2 separate regions of the Homo sapiens genome follow, and region 1 is linked to region 2. Evidence: promoter capture Hi-C in human tissues and cell types (Jung and others, 2019). All regions are on one chromosome and are shown on one strand. Each heading gives the region's core, a stretch centred on a gene start or on the middle of the fragment in contact. The rest is flanking DNA. Distances are from core to core; before and after follow the strand shown.

Evidence for each region. The method cuts DNA at HindIII sites, captures the fragments that hold promoters and counts their contacts. A contact is called where the count stands out against the background at its distance.
Region 1: a contact is called between a fragment that was not itself captured here and the fragment with the promoter of CYP1A2 in region 2, in 1 of the 25 tissues and cell types used here (ovary).

Annotation. Positions count from the first base shown.
Region 1 is chr15:74,388,190-74,390,889 of GRCh38, forward strand. It overlaps LINC02255 (long intergenic non-protein coding RNA 2255), which reads left to right. Exons shown (of 4, transcript NR_146881.1): 3 at 2,330-2,700. Among named protein-coding and RNA genes, the nearest start is that of LINC02255, 10 kb to the left of the region's middle. RefSeq lists enhancers at 1-5, 6-546. The HindIII fragment of the contact is 9,087 bases long and covers 1-2,700 here.
Region 2 is chr15:74,747,518-74,750,217 of GRCh38, forward strand. It overlaps CYP1A2 (cytochrome P450 family 1 subfamily A member 2), which reads left to right and starts at 1,328. Exons shown (of 7, transcript NM_000761.5): 1 at 1,328-1,380; 2 at 2,213-2,700. The coding sequence starts at 2,222. RefSeq lists promoters at 1-1,418, 1,084-2,221. The HindIII fragment of the contact is 12,167 bases long and covers 1-2,700 here.

The DNA of each region.
Region 1 (2,700 bases), core at 141-2,640, 360 kb before region 2:
GCCCGGGATGGGAGCTGGGGTTGGCTCAGCCTCTGCCTGCCACATTCCAGTCCTGCATTCCAGGAGCCCAAGAATTCTAAGTACAAACCTGGTCCTCAGGGTGTTATGAAGGTGTATTTGCTAATGTAGGAGGATAGAGCATATCCTATTTAGAGGTTGTTGGCTTGATTTATAACTTTGAAATATCCAGACATATAGTATGTGGGCCTCCATTTTTACTCCTGCCCTGGGCCCAGGCAATGTTAGGGGTAGGATCAGAGGGCAAGCCCTGGCCCCTGCCCCACCCCTCAGGAGACCCCTGCTCTCCAGCCAGTGAGCGCTGCCGAAGGAGGGCTGGGCAGGAAGCCAGCAGCCGAGGGAGCCCATATGCACCTGTGGACCTAGCTTCAGGGCTGGTGGGACCTAGCAGGCTGGGTCCTTGGGGCTAGGAGCAGGGGAACCCGAGAGAGCGCTTCTCCCAGGGTTGAGCTTCTGCTTGAAGCTGGGAAAGCCACAGAGAGGCTGAGCTTGTGGCCCAGGGACACCCAGCCTGGATGCGGCTGCTGTGCCCTCCCCCTGGAGGTCCCTCCTGCTTCCAAGGCTCACCCACCTGTGCATCCAGCTCGGAGCTCAGGGTGCTTCGATCCCTTTTTTGAGTTCATTCCTGTGGCCAAGCCCTTCCCCCACGGTTTCCCATGCTGGCACCTCAGGAGGATCCTGCCCCTTGTTCCCTACCCAGCTTCAACCCCTTCCTCCGAGGCTCCAAGCCCCCTCACCCCCCTCACTGCAAATCACCTTTCTTCCATTGGAGCCAGGATCTTAGCTCAGGGAGCGACCCCAGCCCCAGTATACAAAGAGAAGCCTGCGGCCCACAGTCCCAGAGCGAGGCTGCAGCTGAGCCCAGGCTAGGACGGGTCTCCTGCCCCACCCCTTCAGCTCAGGGGGCATCACCCACCTCTTTGGAGCCTCACAGACCCCCCTGGTTCAAATTTCCACTAACACTCTCTGTGATCTCCCACAAGCTGCTTTATATTCTGAGCTCCTTCATTTATGAAATGAAGATAATAAATTTTGCCTTGTAAAGTCGTTAGAGGGATTAGATAAAATACACGCATAGGCCAGGCCCTATGCCAAGAACACCTTAGGGCTGAGACCTCCTTCCCTGCCTCACTCTGGCAATGGACATTACTGAGCAGCACCAGGATCCCGAGGCCCAGACAGATGTGCCTCTTGCCCTCCAGGAGCTTCCCTCATGCTGGGAAAACAGACACCAGCCAGGAACCCGCAGGAGGCTCCCAGAGACGGGGAGTGTCCAGGAGGGAGACGAAGCTGGAGGCAGGAGGGGAGGGCAAGGGGTTGAGAAGGCTGGTCAAGGAGGGCCTCTCTAAGAATATGCCCTGAGGACCTAAGGGAACCAGTTGTGCAGCATGTGGAAGAAGAATGTTCTAGAGAGGGGGAACTCAGGACGGTGCCTTGCAGGTTCTCAGAAACGCCTGGCGCTTATCTGAGCACACACTCACGGACCCTGTTACCACACCACAGCGGGGCCTCTGTGTGGGGCTGATAAGGCCAGAAAAGATCTCAAGATATTTTCTTTCCTTTTCTGTGAGTGGCCTGAGATAGGCTGTGTGGGGACATTTGGCTCACGGCCTGCCTCACAGGCCCCCCCCGTCACCAGGGCACCATGGAGCACTCACTGCTGGACCTCCCAGTGGGGACTCGGGATTGGCCCCCGAGGGGGGCTGCCAGCCAGTGCTGGGGGCCCATGCGTGACGGGGCTGACCTGGCTCCCCTGTCGTGACCCACAGAGGCCTGCTCTCTGCTTGTGCAGTCTCTGCCTGCTCGAGTGTACAGCGTACAGGCTCTGGGCTCAGAGATGAGGGCTGGAAGCCAGCTATGTCACCTTCATTCCCTCACCTGTAAAATGGGGGTGCTGACAGTAACATCGTCCTCAGAGGGTTCCTGTAAAGGAGTGGGGGAGATGGTGCTAGAGCCTGGCTCATCCAAACGCCAGGCAAGGTGGCTCACGCCTGTAATCCCAGCACTTTAGGAGGCCAAGGTGGGCAGATTGCTTGAGGTCAGGAGTCCAAGACCAGCCTGGCCAACATGGCGAAACCCCCGTCTCTACTAAAAACACAAAAAATTAGCTGGATGTGGTGGCGTGCGCCTGTAATCCCAGCTACTCAGGAGGCTGAGGCAGGAGAACAGCTTAAACCCGGGAGGTGGAGTTTGCAGTGAGGCAAGATCGCGCTGCTGCACTCCAGTCTGGGTGACAGAGTGAGACTCCACCTCAAAAACAAAAACAAACAAACAAACAAAAGCTCAGTAGGTGCTACTTCCTTTCTTACAGGACCTGTGCCTCCTGGGATGACCCCCACCATCCACCCCTAGGCACCAGGACTGAGTCGGCTCTGAAAAGAAATGGGGAATGAAGCTTTGGGACTTGGTTCCTGCCTTCAGGGAGCCAATGGTCCAGCCAGGGGGATTAGGGTTCATGTCCCTTCCTGGGCCTCCAGGAGGTCATGACCTTCAAAGCAAGAATGAGGAAGCCCACGATGGTAGCGTGGGGCCCTGCATGAAGTGCCTGTGACGGGAGATGGAAGAACTCTGTCATATGTCCGTGAGAGTGAAAGGAACCTCAAGCATTCAAGGAAACCAAACCGGTACCCAAGATAGATGAAGAGATCAGGAATTTACCAGGTCACAGAGGCTTCTTGGCAG
Region 2 (2,700 bases), core at 78-2,577:
GTTTTAATTTTATGGGTACATAGTAGGTGTATATATGTATGGGGTACATGAAATGTTTTGATACAGGCATGCAATATGAAATAAGCATTCATGGAGAATGGAGTATCCATCCCCTCAAGCAAGGATAAACCTTTGAGTTACAAACAATCCAATTACACTCTTTAAAGGTGTACATTTTTTTTTTTTTTGAGACGGAGTCTCACTCTGTCGCCCAGGCTGGAGTGGAGTGGCACGATCTTGGCTCACTGCAGCCTCCACCTCCCAAGTTCAAGCCATTCTCCTGCCTCAGCCTCCCGAGTAGCTGGGATCACAGGCACATGCCACCATGCCTGGCTAATTTTTGTATTTTTAGTAGAGACGGAGTTTCACCAGGTTGGCCAGGCTGGTCTTGAACACCTGATCTCAGGTGATCCGCCCATCTCGGCCTCTCAAAGTGCTGGGATTACAGGTGCGAGCCATCGCGCCTGGCCTAGAGGTGTACATTTTTTAACAGAACCATTCAAAAGGAGGTTGTGGGGATCATGACACTTCCATGCTACAGCATTAATCTCCTAAGAATAAGGATACACTCCCACATACCATGACACTCTGTTCACACCTAAAAAAATTTACATTTATTCCAGAATATCATCTAATCTCCAGTCCGTGCTTACATGTCCCCAATTGTCCCCAAAACATCTTTTATAGATTTTTTTAAAATTTTGTTTAAATGCCATATCCAATCGATATGGCAATCAAATGCAAATCCATATTGCATTTGGTTATGTCTCTTAGTCTTTTTGCATAAGGGGGGCCTCTCTTTAGGATGCAAAATCTTTATCATCTCTTCTTTTCCACTTGGGGACTTGGGCTGAAAATCAGGAGTGGCTGGAACACGCCCATTTACTGTTTGGTTTTGCAGGTTGTTGGAGGGTACTACAGAAGAACATCCCTCTGGAGAGGGGCCGTGAGCCTGGTTGGCCTAGACTGAGTGCCCTGGCAGAGCTCTTCCTCATGTGTGCAGTGGGAAAGAAGCCCAGATCAGTCCAAAGGCCTAACCCCCACTCCCAGACCCTACCCTACTCTTCAGAGAAATAGGCTCCCTACCCTGAACCCTAAAGACAGCTGTACCTTCATCCCCAGGGACCCAGCACCCCTTCTGGCCTATCCCCAAAGAGTCACCCTGGGTCTTAGGTAGTAGGTGGAGCTGAGGGATAATGGCCCAAGGCCAAGAGTTGATCCTTCCAACTTTGTTCAGTGATCCAGCTTTCATATCAGGTGATCAGGACAACCAGGCCAATCTGATAGGGGGCGGTGTTTATAAAAAGGCCACTCACCTAGAGCCAGAAGCTCCACACCAGCCATTACAACCCTGCCAATCTCAAGCACCTGCCTCTACAGGTACCTTTCTTGGGACCAATTTACAATCTCTGGGATCCCCAACTATAGAACCTGGAAGCTAGTGGGGACAGAAAGACGGGGAGCCTGGGCTAGGTGTAGGGGTCCTGAGTTCCGGGCTTTGCTACCCAGCTCTTGACTTCTGTTTCCCGATTTTAAATGAGCAGTTTGGACTAAGCCATTTTTAAGGAGAGCGATGGGGAGGGCTTCCCCCTTAGCACAAGGGCAGCCCTGGCCCTGGCTGAAGCCCAACCCCAACCTCCAAGACTGTGAGAGGATGGGGACTCATCCCTGGAGGAGGTGCCCCTCCTGGTATTGATAAAGAATGCCCTGGGGAGGGGGCATCACAGGCTATTTGAACCAGCCCTGGGACCTTGGCCACCTCAGTGTCACTGGGTAGGGGGAACTCCTGGTCCCTTGGGTATATGGAAGGTATCAGCAGAAAGCCAGCACTGGCAGGGACTCTTTGGTACAATACCCAGCATGCATGCTGTGCCAGGGGCTGACAAGGGTGCTGTCCTTGGCTTCCCCATTTTGGAGTGGTCACTTGCCTCTACTCCAGCCCCAGAAGTGGAAACTGAGATGATGTGTGGAGGAGAGAGCCAGCGTTCATGTTGGGAATCTTGAGGCTCCTTTCCAGCTCTCAGATTCTGTGATGCTCAAAGGGTGAGCTCTGTGGGCCCAGGACGCATGGTAGATGGAGCTTAGTCTTTCTGGTATCCAGCTGGGAGCCAAGCACAGAACACGCATCAGTGTTTATCAAATGACTGAGGAAATGAATGAATGAATGTCTCCATCTCAACCCTCAGCCTGGTCCCTCCTTTTTTCCCTGCAGTTGGTACAGATGGCATTGTCCCAGTCTGTTCCCTTCTCGGCCACAGAGCTTCTCCTGGCCTCTGCCATCTTCTGCCTGGTATTCTGGGTGCTCAAGGGTTTGAGGCCTCGGGTCCCCAAAGGCCTGAAAAGTCCACCAGAGCCATGGGGCTGGCCCTTGCTCGGGCATGTGCTGACCCTGGGGAAGAACCCGCACCTGGCACTGTCAAGGATGAGCCAGCGCTACGGGGACGTCCTGCAGATCCGCATTGGCTCCACGCCCGTGCTGGTGCTGAGCCGCCTGGACACCATCCGGCAGGCCCTGGTGCGGCAGGGCGACGATTTCAAGGGCCGGCCTGACCTCTACACCTCCACCCTCATCACTGATGGCCAGAGCTTGACCTTCAGCACAGACTCTGGACCGGTGTGGGCTGCCCGCCGGCGCCTGGCCCAGAATGCCCTCAACACCTTCTCCATCGCCTCTGACCCAGCTTCCTCATCCTCCTGCTA